Regions from separate parts of the Homo sapiens genome. Here all the other regions are linked to region 3. The links are contacts of gene promoters, found by promoter capture Hi-C in human tissues and cell types (Jung and others, 2019). All regions are on one chromosome and are shown on one strand. Each heading gives the region's core, a stretch centred on a gene start or on the middle of the fragment in contact. The rest is flanking DNA. Distances are from core to core; before and after follow the strand shown.

What was found. The method cuts DNA at HindIII sites, captures the fragments that hold promoters and counts their contacts. A contact is called where the count stands out against the background at its distance.
Region 1: a fragment that was not itself captured here is called in contact with the fragment with the promoter of SETBP1 in region 3 in 1 of the 25 tissues and cell types used here (dorsolateral prefrontal cortex).
Region 2: a contact is called between a fragment that was not itself captured here and the fragment with the promoter of SETBP1 in region 3, in 1 of the 25 tissues and cell types used here (dorsolateral prefrontal cortex).

Annotation. Positions count from the first base shown.
Region 1 is chr18:45,327,820-45,332,481 of GRCh38, reverse strand. It overlaps a transcript of SLC14A2 not described here. Among named protein-coding and RNA genes, the nearest start is that of SLC14A2-AS1, 170 kb to the left of the region's middle. The HindIII fragment of the contact is 5,428 bases long and covers 1-4,662 here.
Region 2 is chr18:45,441,811-45,446,601 of GRCh38, reverse strand. All of the region lies in intron 6 of SLC14A2-AS1 (SLC14A2 antisense RNA 1), which reads left to right. It also overlaps a transcript of SLC14A2 not described here. Among named protein-coding and RNA genes, the nearest start is that of SLC14A2-AS1, 60 kb to the left of the region's middle. The HindIII fragment of the contact is 3,859 bases long and covers 1,022-4,791 here.
Region 3 is chr18:44,678,046-44,683,055 of GRCh38, reverse strand. SETBP1 (SET binding protein 1) reads right to left here and starts at 2,168. Exons shown (of 6, transcript NM_015559.3): 1 at 2,035-2,168. SETBP1-DT (SETBP1 divergent transcript) reads left to right here and starts at 3,184. Exons shown (of 2, transcript NR_187430.2): 1 at 3,184-3,440; 2 at 4,167-5,010. RefSeq lists enhancers at 33-122, 173-242, 353-422 and silencers at 2,294-2,343, 2,484-2,733, 3,404-4,043. The HindIII fragment of the contact is 9,552 bases long and covers 904-5,010 here.

The DNA.
Region 1 (4,662 bases), core at 1,237-3,736, 650 kb before region 3:
CACGGATACCAAAATCCATGGATACTCAACTCTCTTATATAAAATGGTGTAGTATTTTCATATAACCTATACACATCCTTCCATGTAACTTTAATTATCTTTAGATTACTTATAATACCTAATACATGTAAATTCTATATAAATAGTTATGTTGTATAGGGAATAGCGACAAGAAAAGAAGTTTGTACATGTTTAGTACAGGTTCAATTTTTTTTCAAATATTTTTGATCCACAGTTGGTTGAATCTACAGATGTATAACCCACAGATACAGAGGGCCAACTGTATTTGAAACCAGAACTGATTGCCAAGGAGAAATCCAGCAGTATGAAAACAAAGTAAATCCACCACATTAGTTGATTGGAATGTTACAGCTTCCCTTAACTTCAGAGAAGTTTTAGAAGAGAGATAAGAGTAGACATGGATTTTGAAGGGGACAGGATTTATTCTTTACAAATAGCTAAGTTTTTTAGACCCATCCAGCTGCCACTCAAGAGCAGAGATGAGGCTTCTCATTGTTAACCCCACCTGCTGTCTGCACAGAGGAAGGTCAAATATGGCCTGAACTCCAATGACAAGAAGAGGTCACTTCATATTTAGAAGTAAAATATATTTGTTTTCCTGGAATATTTCAAAGCAGGTCTGAGTGTTTTGTGTTTGTGTTTTTGGTGCAGGAAAATAGATGGAACAAGAGTGCTAGAATGTTAAGGATCATTCAAGTAATGGTACATGAGGGCATATATACTATTCTATTTTATGTATGTTTGAAGGATTAATTTTTTTTTTTTTTTTTGAGACGGAGTCTCGCTCTGTCACCCAGGCTGGAGTGCAGTGGTGCGATCTCGGCTCACTGCAACCTCCGCCTCCTGGGTTCATGCCATTCTCCTGCCTCAGCCTCCCGAGTAGCTGGGACTACAGGTGTCCGCCACCACGCCCGGCTAATTTTTTTTTATTTTTAGTACAGACAGGGTTTCACGTGTTAGCCAGGATGGTCTCGATCTCCTGACCTTGTGATCCGCCTGCCTCAGCCTCCCAAAGTGCTGGGATTACAGGCGTGAGCCACCACACCCGGCCAGGATTAAATATTTTTTAAATTATGTAAAAACTAAAAAAGAGAGGGTTACTTCTTTGCCATCTTTAGAAACTTGCTGAGGGAAGAGCAGCTCCATGCTGCTTGTCAAAATTTTTATGTAGTTTTAAAATAATTTAGTATTTGTATAAGGGGATATTACAGGAGACTTGGCTTTAGGTTTTACTTCACTGGGTTCCCAAATCTGAAGACAAAGGGAGTTAGATGTCCGTATATTCTAAAGACGGATGCCTGAACATCGATGCAGTACTTGCTAGGAATATGGCTGTTGTGGGTTGAATGGTGTCATATATGTCTCCAATTATTTTATCCAAAAGTCTTACAGAATTTGGGGCACAAAAATATCAACAATTTTACCTATGTATTTTCTTATGTTCCTTGGGTTTTATGTTATATCACCATTTGTATATTTTTTCAATCACGTATTTTTTGAAAATGCATGAAGCACTTCCATGTTTGTGTGGTATGTGTCAATTTATCCTCACAACAACCACATAAATTCAAGAAGGCAGAGATTATCCCAAACTTTTAGCTCAGGAATTGTAGACTCAGTGCAACGGCTTCTCTAGCTAGTGAGTGTCAATGAAAGACTTGATCCAGAATCTTGATCTTCTTATTTCAAGCCCAATATTCTCTTTCTCTAATACAAGACTTTCTGAATTGGAAATGGCCCGAGGGACAGCGTGTTAAGGGTCTGGCGGGAGAGTGAAGACTTGCCTGGGTGCATCACATCCATGACCTCACATCTGCATGCAGAGCTGAAAAAGGATCTATGTGTGCTAACTCATGAAGTCCATATTCCATGTTCCTGTGGGCTATTTGGGATGGGCAGGCATTCTGCCTTCTTTAGTATATCCTCTATCACTCAAAGATAGGGCATGACTAACATTCCACGTTCATCACTCCTCAGCCTCTGGCAACCATGCACCATCATCACTTACACACAAAAATGTTTTCCCAGCCTCCCATCAGAAGGCCGTGTGCTCTGAAATGCAACCTCAAGCCTAATGATAAATTTTCCCCCAGCTACCCACACTCTTTTGCCTGTGACCAATTGTCTGTGACCAATTTCAAGTCCAGCTGGACAGGCTTAGGGGTACAATTGGAAGCCAAAAAAAGAGGCTGTCTTGATGTAACACAAACACCAGAGGTCACAGTCATGGCTCTGGTCTCACTAGCTCCTTGCTTGACCCTACTGAATGAGCTGGCTGGGATATCAGTTCTGCTTGCTTTCCAGGTCTCAGCTTACACCCAAAGACTCATCAACCAAGCAGGTTCAGACCCTCCTTCAGTCACTGAAATCCAAAATTATTTAATTCTTTGAGCCTTAGTTTCCTCTTCTGTAGAACGAGATATTATTTTCTCTTTGCTGAATGGTTATGAAGGTTAAGTGAGAGTATGTATATAAAGCACTTGTCACTGCACACAACATAACCTCAATAAATGGTGCCCATGATAGCAAGGATGATAATAGGTTTACAAGTATTATTTATTATATTACAAACCATGATGACTTGGAATTTAAACTGGGTGTCTGCCTAGTTGAGTTTACCTAAGTTTTTGTTTGTTTGTTTCTTTGTGTTGGCTCCATGCATGTATAGTATCTCCTTCTATCTTTTTCCTTCCCAAATAAACATCTATTTCTGGTCAAGCACTGTGCTGGGCACTGTGGGAGTTACAAAGAAGAGAAAGATGCACTTCTAGACTTGCAGGCATTTAGAATCTCACAGCAGAGTCAAGGTATACATATTTTAAACAATTGGATAACAACACAGGCTGGTGGCAATTGAGAAAAAGTGGGGAAAAAAAACCTTTCATTCTTGCTCCACTGAGTCTTACCCCCTCCTTATAAATTACCTCAGGTGTCAATCACTAGCTTTGGCTCCAAATGCTCAAGCACATTTCTAAATGGAAGCTTCCCTGGGACACAGTCTTTTCTATTTGTAGAGGGTGTTGTAGTCTGCAAATTGATGGTTATTTGAAGATATGCTAGGGAGGAGGACAGGGATCACTCTAGAGGCAGGGTGCTGCCAGCATGCACACATACACACTCATCATCCCTAAGGCTCCCCAAGTTCAGTCTCTTTGAAATGAACTTGCCTCACCGTCTTGCAAGAAATATATAATTGTATGGCCATTTCCTCCATCATAATCTGCTCCATAATACAGAAGAAATGCTACCTTGCCAAAGGAAATAAGACATTGGCAATCAGCATCTCTCCCCAGACCTTGTCAAAGAGCCATAACCGTAACAAAATAAACAAATAGATCATCAAAACATTTCTTTTCCCTTTCCCCTCACTTGTCTCCTTTTTTTCTTTCACTTTGAATGCTCCATTAGAGTGTAGAAAATTTCACAGTTTTCTCCAGCTCTGGAAAAATCGTTAGGCCCTTCTGCTGGTCGGCTTTGGAAACATTTGGAACAAATTATCTCTACTTTTGGAATCTGAATAAAGGAATGTGAGCTTCACTGGAGAAATGTGAAATCTAGGGCGGGATTCGCAAAATGGTTTAAGGTTTGCTTTTGCACACATACTTTTTTTGAGTTTGTTTGGGTTTGGAACGTATTATAAGAAAAATAACAAGATTTGCAATGTGCTTTTCATAATTCCTTTGCTTTTCATAAAAACCAATTGGCTCCTCCTCCAGTGCTCCCCCATCACCTTGCAGAAGGAGCTCCCATCTTTAGTGTTAAGCATATGCTTCTTACATAACATGTAATCTACCAGTTAGGGTCAAGGAAGAGAAGGAAGATTTTCTGGGAACTTGTTCTTTACCAAATCACAAATTTAATCCTATTGTTATTCTATCAACTTCTTGATGTCCAAATACCCCTCCAAGAAGTTGACGCAGCCCCTGAGGGAGTTACTGAGACTTCATGAATCTCAAGACTGAGTTGTCTTATCTGAGCTCAAGAGCAGCTGTCTCAGGGCATAACCTCAGTGCAACTGAAACCCTGAAAATGCTGTGACAGAGTTGGCTTTTGTCCTGCGCTAGTATCCATGGCTTTGTCCATCATTCCTGTCTCTGGCCCTGTGGTTGATGTTCAGTGATAATAAACACAGACCTCCTACTTGAGCCACAAGCAGCATACCCTGAGATGCGTTTGCTGGGGACTCCAGGACCACACTTCCTTTTTGCTCTGCAGACACAAGCACCTTCAGGAGGAGAATGCACTTGCTTTCATATGAGAGGCAGGAATAAAGAGTCAGATAAACAGGCCTGGGAAAAGGGAGCATGAGGAGGAGAGGGAACAGAGAGCTCTAAAGCCTTTGTTCCAGGAGGAAAATCCTTATGGAACAACATTTTTTTTTCTTCCACTTTGTTTTTTCAGTTGCCAAGAGGGCTATGTTTACCAAACCTGCTTAAGTGTCTAGACAGTATATTTCCAACATTCTCTTCAGCTATCCCCATACAAACATGATATCTGTCAAGTCATGTCCTTCTCATTTTTAGTTCAGAGAAAAGTAGGCACCATAATCTTTCTATAGTTTATGAAGCCTCATTCAGAGGCTGTCTATGAATTTACCAAGCCTTATCATTCCCTTCGCTCACTCCTACCCCTATAATTTAG
Region 2 (4,791 bases), core at 1,702-4,201, 760 kb before region 3:
ATCTGCTTTTCATGTTTGTATTGGTCAGCTTGGGCAGCTATAACAAATATCATCAATTGGATGACTTAAACAAAAGACAGTTTCTCTCACAGTTCTGGTGGCTGGAAGTCTAAGACAAGGGTGCCAGCATTGTTGGGTCTTTGGTGAGGGCTTTCTTCCTGGCTTGCAGACAGCTACTTTCTCACTGTGTTCTTATGTGGTGGAAAGAGAGAGCTCTGGTCTTTTTCTCTTCTTATAAGGACACTAATCCCATCATAGGGGCTCCACCCTAATGACCACATCTTAACCTAATCACCTCACAAGAGCTCCAAATCCAAAACCCATCATATATGGGGTTAGGGCTTCAACATATGAATGAGGAGGGCACAAACATTCTATCCATAACAATGATCTTCTGAACATATTCAATGAGAGAACAATTATATTAACAATAATCACACTCTTTAACTGAGCGTGAACCCTGTGTGCCAGGGGTTTCACTTACATTATCTCATATTATCCCCATGGTGACAGCAAGAGGTAAATATCATTAATCCTTTATAATGGAGAACACTAAGATTTTGGAGAAAATTATATAGCCTAAGTTAGAACCCAGTGACTCCAAAGCCAAGGCTTTAATGTCTTTGCTTACTGCTCTGCCTTCTGAAGGTAGAATAATCAGTGGTTATTTCCCAAAAGAACCACTTTCCTGAAAGTGTTCCTTTCCACGTGTTACTAATGTGGCTTCTCTAGGCATTTTCTTTAGCTCAAAGAGAATTCTAAGAGTAGGAATTTTAGGCACACTACAGGTTAGTGGGATAATATTTGGGAGGGAAGGGCCTCATCTGCCTCTTGATATCATGCCATAAAGGCAACTGCCTACTCCATCTGTGATATCTGCATAGGGCCAACTCTATTCTCATCTAACCTAATCTGTAGCTTGTTGGGCCACTAACTTCAATTAATGTTTGCACATATTACTCATTCAATCTTTCAATCATTCCTATGAGCTAGGTTGGTATTCTTATTATTCTTGTTTTAAAGATGAGAAAACAAGCAGAGAGAGATTGGGCAATCTCCCCAAGTTTACACAGCAAGTGAAGAAAAGACCACCACAGACTCAAATGTAGGCATCTTTGTTTTTATCACTAAAGAATAAACAGTTGGATCCTCCATCACAAATGTCTCTTACGTCCTATCAAAAATGGTGTCAGGCCAGGCTTGGTGGCTCACGCCTGTAATCCCAGCACTTTGGAAGGCTGAGGCGGGCAGATCATGAGGTCAGGAGTTCGAGATCTGCCTGGCCAACATAGTGAAACCACATATCTACTAAAAATATAAAAATTAGCCAGGCATGGTGGTGCATGCCTGTAGTCCCAGCTACTTGGGAGGCTGAGGCAAGAGAATTGCTTGAACCTGGGAGGCGGAGGTTTCGGTGAGCCAACGTTGTGCCACTGCACTTCAGCCTGGGGAACAGAGCAAGACTCCGTCTTAAAAAAAAAAAAAAAAAAAAAAAGCATGTCAATTTGCCACAAAGAGTTAAACATCTGCACATTTACTCCCTTACCTACAAGATTCCCATCATCCATTTGTTTTGCATTCCTTCATAGTTCCATTCACTCATTAATTCATTTAACAAATATTTTCGAAGCACATTACTTGGTACCAGTCATTGTATTAGATACTGGCTATCAAATCCAAGTTTACAAAAGGAAATTGAACCAATGGGCTATTAGCTGAATTGACAACGTGATCTAATGACTTTGATGTTGGTAGAGACCTCTCCACTTTCTCCACCTCTCATAGGCTCCCTGAGAGAAGTAGCTTTAAAAAGAGCTGTCGATGCACACCTACCTGTGCGGCTCGCCACTGGCTCCCACTTTTAAAGAGATGATGGCATGATTTCTGATTACAGCCATTAGATAAAATGAAATAGAGAAAGCTGGCTCACCAGTTTCATCCTGCTTAATCAAATAGCCTAATTCATCATATTCACTCACATGATAGTGCCTTTCCACACTTCAAAGACAGGCATGCACAAGCCCAGTTCAGGTTTCCATCCAACGGCAACTCACTCCTTTTTAAATATGGACAGATCATCTTTTCTTCTTTATTTTCCCCCTTCTGAAAACCTATTTCAGATCCAGCCAGGAAGAAACCTATGCTGGGGATAGCATTATCCTTCATGACAGAATTCAGCAGAATTTCTTTCTTACTGACTTTGGGGCTGGAGTGGGGTCTGAGCCAGGATCAGAATATCAAAGTATGTCAGAACTGGCAGGGTCCACAGGGAGAAGGTAGTGCATCCACTCACTTTACAGATAAGAAAACCTACAAGATTGCCACAAAGCAGGAGCAGAGCTTCAGCTTCCAGACTCCCTAGCCAGAGCTCTCAACTTGTCTTATCTCTAGGATTGCTGTTAACACCTCAGAAAACCTTAGAACAGGGCTTCCAGTTGGTTCTTCAGTACACGCACAAAAGTCTGCCTTCAGATACATTGCTGATGGTTCCACAGAGGATCCAAACTTTCTTTATGATAGAAACAAATTTGCAGCATTGGTAATGGTTACTCTACTGTGCTTCCATTTCTTCTCCCTTGTCCTCTTTACTTTTTCCAGGGACCCACTCTCCATGTGTGTTTCCAGGAATTTTGTACTGCTAATTGCACCTGTTTTCTCTCCCTAAGGCCTGGATTATGGAAAAGACTACTCTGGATAGGCTTCTTTCTCCTTCCCTTTCAAAGAGCCTCTGCACCCAGCTGACTATTATTATTTCAAATGAAGAGAGGGAATGCCTTACACCCTTATTCAAAATGAGATCTGAGTGACTGATGTAGGGTCTCAGAAAAACATACCCCAAAACAAATCCCTCAGAAGCAAAAGTCTTTCTCTGACCTGCCCTCCTCTCTCTGCCTCTCATTCTTCCCAAGGCTAGCCATAGAAACTAGAACCCCTCTGCCCTACAGAAGATCACAGAAACTAGAACTCCATTTCCCCCAATCCAGCCATAAAACCTACAAAGATTACTCTAACTCTTCCCCCACCCCCACTGCCTTTCTGTGTAAATCAAGATGGCCATCAAGAAATTATCTGACCTATCTTCTTTGACTGTAGGTCATAAGACCCCCATTCCAGAGACAGTTCTGCCACACATCCACGGAAAGATTGTGTGTTCAAAGAGGCCAAGAAGAATCTAGACAGACAGGCCTTACTGGGCATCCCCAATCAGTCCATTAGCATCAGATGATGCCTTTTTTTGTCCAGTTGTATTTCTACATAGTTATCCTTACTTTGCTGAACCTAAGCATAAAAATAGACAGTTTTCCCTGCATCTTTGGGTCTTCATTTTGAAAGCTCACAAGTCATGGAAAACTATGATCACACACATTTATATGCCTCTTCTCCTATTAGTTTGCCTCTTGTCAGTGATTTTCAGTGAATCTTCAGAATGTAAACCTTCACCTTCCCCTTCCCCTTCAGTGAACCTACACTGCCAACTAATATACTGGGGAAACTGTTAATTTGAAACAAGGATAAATCTCATGGTTAAATTTCAGTGGGTTTAGACTTTGGAGCAAGGAGACTTTCCCAAATAGTTTTCAAAACATGCACATATAAAACCATACATATGTGCACAGCTGGCCCACATATTGACATTGTGTAGACACAGTCTAAAAGCTTCAACAACCTAGCACCTGCCAATCCCCATGCACAGACACATCCTGGGCAACCTAGACAATATGGTTGATGTATACAGGAGGGAATTTTTTTCTAGCTACCTGACTTAGTTAAAGATAAATCTTTAGCAAATGAAGGCTTAGCAAACAATAACAATAGTGATAGTAGCTTCCTTTATGGAACACTTAATTTGTAATTAAGCTTTATATACATCTCACTTTTTTTTCTGACAAGCCTTTTATGAATTGATTGTATCTTCCCAAAATTCATATGTTGAAGTCCTAACTCTTAATATATTAGAGTATAATCTTATTTGGAAATAAGTTTATCCCAGATGTAATGAGTTAAGATAAGGTTATAATGGAGTAGGGTGGGCTCCTAATCCAACATAACCTGTGTCTTAATAAAAAGAGGAAATTTGGATATAGAGACATACACAAAGGGAGAATACTGTGTGAGGATGAAGGCAGAGATCTGAGTGATGCCTTGACATGCCAACGAAAGTCAAAGATTGCCAGCAAACCACCAGAAGCAAGAGGAGAGACATGGAACAGAATCTTCCTCACAGTCTCAGAAGGAATGAACTCTATCAATACCTTGATCTCTGACTTCTGGACACCAGAAGTGTGAGACAATAAATTTCTGTTATTTAAGCCATCCAGTTTGCGGCACTTTGTGATGGCAGTGCTAGCATACTACCACAAAGCCTTTGAATAGTCCTATCCTCATTTTATCAACAAGGAAACTGAGGCTCACATCAGTTAAATAACTTGCCCAAGACCACATAGCAGGTAAGGAGCAAAGCCAGTATTCAAACTTGGATCTGCATGCTCTGCTCCTTCTCAGGTACGGGAAATTGTGTTGGTAAAAGCTAGGAAAGGCTAGTTTTTCCTCCACAACAAGCCAGATATGATACATCTTCCTTGTCAGCCTGGAATAGGACAGCCAGTTCTCCCAGGTCACACTCCCATCACTAATAGCACTCCGGGGTCTGTTGTCTACTTTTTTCATGTTTCTCCTTGTTCAGCAATTAACAGAATCCCAAATCAAATGCCAAGGGATGACATTAGAAAATAAAGTTTCCCTCTTCAATCTTCTCGTTTCATTTCTTTAGCCCTGAAAATGCACTGGAGG
Region 3 (5,010 bases), core at 919-3,418:
TCAGACACTCCACCTTATGTTCACTGCAAGCCATCCCCTCCCCCACCTCCAGTTTGTTTATTCCAGAGATACATCTATTTTCCCAGCTAAGAGAGACGAGTCCCTTTCCCTCCTCTGGCTCCCGGTGGTGCATTCGCTCACCACCTCCTCCCCCAGCTCAGCTCAGGTTACTATAGTGGCTAGCAACTCCCACAGCCCAGGTCTAACACCAACTCAACTTCCCAAGACCAATAGTTTGTTTTGGTTTTGGTTTTGTCCCCTTAACGGGGGAGGAGAAATCGTGTGCCAAGCAACACTCTGGGTACCTGGTCTCCATATCTTTGGGGGCTACATTCCCTGCCGTTTGCAAATACTCTGTTTAACCACACTTGATTTCTTCCTCCTCTTCCGACTTTCCCCCAAACACTCTGTCTTAATACCCTTTTCTGGGAACAGGCAATGAGACTAAGCACAGGGGAAAACACAGCACCTCACCTTCACTCTGACACCTGGGAATCCCTCGTCAGAGCAAAAGAGCTCACGCCTCCCTCAGGGAGTTTAAGGATGGTAGAAGCCAGAGAAATCAGAAAAAAAGGGAGGGAGTGACCTGGGATGGTAAACTAGCTACATCTTAAAGTGCTACAAACTTTCTCCTCCCTCACACGCCCCTGTCTGGTTGGCTCCGCCTTCCCATCCCAGCTGGGGTGTGCAAAGGAAACTCTCCCCGGAATGCCCAGGTCTGGTCCAGTGTTGAAGATGTGGCCTGCACACAACACCGCCCTTCCTCTCCAAATACCTCTTCTCTACCCCATCCCCTTTCTCCCACGACACACACATGCTTTGCACGTGAAGATGAGTTTGGATGGGGCACAGGAGATATACCTATTTACTAAAGGAGGGTAAGAGATGGTGCCAAATCGGCAGATAGTTTTGGTGACAGTACAGAGACTTCAAGAAATTAGTTTTTAGTATAAATCTACAGAAAAAGAAGAAAAACAGGATGAAGAGTGAAGGAATGAAAAGAAAAAGAAGGAAAAAGATGTAAGAGAAAAACAATCAACGCCAGTGGACTCCAACTAAACTTTAAGGGGAAAGGTGTGGATAGTTGGCAGGAGGTGGGGGGAGTGTAGGGGCTGGAAGGGAAAGGTATCTGCTGTAGAATTCCAGAATAAACTGCCCTTTTGGAGGAGAGTTTCTGCAGGGATAAAGAGACACACAAATTGCCCTTTTAGCGTTAGATGTCAACCGTGAGATTATCAGGACAGTTTATTTGAAACGGAAACGAATCGGAAATCCTTCCCACAACAGTCCTTTTAGACAGATACACACCCTGAGAATCCAACACAGACACACATAAAGAATAAATGCAGCATTAGGGGGCAATAAGAACTCCCCTTCCACACTCTCAATACCTCTAGCCTCATCTATTTCCAATTGCACAACTTTCAATCTCCAATGAAAATATTTCCAGTTGGATCCGATTTCAGACTTGTAGTAAGCGGTCTGGATGGGGGGGCGGGGGGAATAGGTGCTGTACTGTGCAGGGGAGGGGGGCTGGAAGACAGTATTTCGGCAGTTAACTTATTTTTTTAGAACCAGCATGCTCTACCGATCAGAAATTGCTATTACCCAACAATGCTTCCATCACAAACAGACACTGAAAACAGCATCCCCGTTATCACCATCTTGCCAAAGATCTGCCCGGTCCAGTTTACCTGACTTTGTCCCTGCGGAACTTCTCAGACAGTATTTCGGTCAAAGAGATAATGGTTTGGAAGACAAAAACAATAAATCGATACCGAAGGGTTCCCTTTCCGGAGTGATTTCCCACTGGAAACCACCGAACGGGGAAGCCTGCCGTTCATTCCCAAGCCCACGGCTCCTCTAGAAACGCACACAATGCGTGCTTTCAAAAAGGCATTCGTCTGCTTTTAAGGGAATTCCTATCTTTTCAGAGTCCCAAAACCAGAGAGCACAAGAAAGAGACTCAAATCCATTGATTAAGATTTTTAAGAAAAAGACTAACACACAGGCACAACACAAGCACACACCAACCTTCGCCGGCTGGACCACTTCTTGCCTGTTCTTCTTTCTATTAACGACACGTTAGATTCTGATACATTCCCCCCCCAAAAAAATCCAACTAGGTTACAATGTAGCTCTCTAGCTCCACTTAACCTGCAAGTTACAAAGAGAGAAAAAAAAAATCCTGCCTTCCCACCCCTTTCCTTACCCCCTCCCCCTCCCGAGTCCACTCCACCAACGCCAAACCCGCCAGCCCCGCCAGCCGGCTGCAGGACCGAGGGAGGGTGCAAAAGGCGGGGGGCGGAGGGGGGGTAGATCAGATTAGGCGAAACTCAATAAGCTCCCAGCCCTCCAGCCCAAAGCTTCCACCATCGCCGCCACCAACGAGCCACTCCAATTGAGCCAGCATCGCCGCCCACCCGCCGGCCCGCCGGAATCGCGCCCATCTCCTGCAACCTCGCCCGGACCGGCATCCCGCCCCCTCGGCCCGGTCTCCCCCTTCCCGCCGGGTGCAAAGTCAAAGACCCAGCAAGGCGACGTGAACTTTTGCATGCAGGGCACACACGTCGCCCCCGGTTCCGGGAGTGCGGGGGCCCGCGGCGCGGAGGGAGGCTGGGCGCCCGGGCTCCCGGGCCAAGGTCGCCGCGCGTGCTCACCCATGTCCCGGCGGCTCCGGCTCCGCTGGCCCCGGCGCTCGCTCAGATCCCGGCTCCCGTCGCTCGCCCGAGCCCCCAAAGGTGCTGCTGCGGCAACTCCATGGCGATGAGCATCTGTCAAACGGCGAGCCGCGAGCTGGCCGCCCTAGCTCGGGGGGCGCCGGGGCCCCCGGGCGCGCGGAGGCGGCGGCGAGCGGCGGGCGCCCCGGCCGGCCCCGCGCTTCCCGCCCGACTCTGCCGCCTCCGCCGCGCCACCGATTTATGGAGAGAGATATCAAGGGGGAAAATGGCGTCTCCGGAGCCCGAGGAGTCCTGGAGTAATCACATTCACACACACACGCCCGCACGCACACACACTCGCACACACTGGCACACAGGCGCGCGGCGAGCCCTGCTAATTTTAGCAGGAGCCAAAAAAAATTTTATATATATATATATATATATATATATATATATATCCCCGTCTCTCCGATCAATGCTTTTTCTTTTTTTGCTTTTTTTTTTTTTTTTTTTTTTTTTTTTGCTTTTCTTCAAAGGATGGGTTGGAGCGTTAAAAAATGTTGGTGGGTTTGGGCTCGCAGGAGGCGGCGCGCGGAGGGCGAGGGCGCTTTTGCTGAGCTGTGCAGTTCGGTCCGCTGAGCCCGGCGGCCCTGCCCGCCCGCTCGTCCGCCCGCGGTCGCTAGTGTTGCCGCCGCCGCCGCCGCCGCCGCCGCTGCTGCTCCATGGCCGCGCCCGCCCCGCGCCCCCGCCGCGTCCCGTCGCCGCCCGCCCGCGTCCCCGGTGAGCGCTGGAGTGGGGTCGGGCCCGTGTGCCTGCCTCCCGCGCCCTCTCCGAATCCCGGACTCCTAGTGAAAGGAAGGGGGAGGGCGCGGGCGCGGAAGGGAGGTGGATCGGAGCGGCAGCGCGGCCCAGCCGAACGGGTACCGACCGTCACCCCGCGATCTTCCTCGCAGGGGGCGCCGGCGCCCAAGCTGCTCGCCCGGAGGGCCCAGAGCCGCTTCCCAGACCAGAGCCGGGGGAGGCGCAGCCAGTAGCGAGCCCTGAGCGACCTCTCTCCCCACTCGCCCCCCTGCCCCAGTGAATTTCTGTCAGTTGAAGGGAGCGGGGCTCTTGCCCGGGGAAAAGGAAAACAGTTCGTGGCCTGGGATCTGGGACCCCTTGCCGCCCCCAGCGCCCCTCCCGCTCCCCGGCGCCCTTGCGGCCCAGTGGCTCCTGCGCGCCGGAGTCCGCCGCGAAGACTGAGCGGCCGCGGGGATCGCCGCGGGCTCCGCGCGTATTCCTGGGCTCAACACTGCCACTATCTGACACAACAGGAGCAGTGTCGGGGGGGTACTGCGCGCCCAGACGTGAGCTGTGATAGGCTCTCGAAACTGGGCGCATTTTTTTTTTAACCTGGTAATTATATTTCACTTTCAGGGTTTTTTTAAATTATTATTATTATTTTATTGTTGTTGTTAAGCGACTTGTATGCATTCAGATCTCATGTGCATTTTCTCGTTATTCAAGAGAATTGGACACTTGATGAAGGGAAGGACACGGAGAGATGACAAACGCAGACTGGCATGCAGTTGTTTTCAGGGTGGGAAGAACAAAGTGGAATGTCTTCAGTTCTTACAAAATATGGTGGCATTTGTAATCTCTGAGTTTTTGTATTTGGCCTACAAAGGGGGTCTTTTCAGGGAAACACGAATGGAACCCTTCAGAGACATGTCTACATTGTAAAACAATATAGGATAGATACGGATTCGGGAAGGTCTGCAAATGGTTCCGCTCAAAGAACTTGGGGTAAAGTTGACCGAGGACTCGGATTCTGAGAGGACTCCTATCACGTTCTTCATGAGAGTTTTAGGCTATTTGGACTGAGGAATGATTTGGAGGTACGTCGGGGGCATTCCCTCACTGAGGCCATCAGTGGCTGCCTCCCTGCATTGGCTGCTGGTTTGAGTTCCTTCACAGAACTTCTTCGTCAAGTTTTTCATAGGAACGCTGCAGTGAAGTGGAGTGAAAGAGACTGGGGATTGAAGGGTGAACCCCTTCCAGCCCCAATCCCATCCCGATTCCTGTCTGGATGCAGATTCAGTCTGACTCAGAACGGATAGTTCACCCTTTTACTGATCCAAGTGCTCTGTCCTCTTTTTTTCAGAGGAATGTTCTGACTGGCTACAAACTTTTCTTCTGTCACTGCAGGACCTCCCGTGGAGCAATTTTCGATAGGTCTTCTACTATGCTTTTTTACCGCGTCATTGTTATTGCTGAGAAAATAATGCTTAGTTAGGAAAAAAAATAGCAGAGCATATGAGCTGATGATAGAAGTAGAGATCAAGGCACAGAATACAATATCAAAACAACT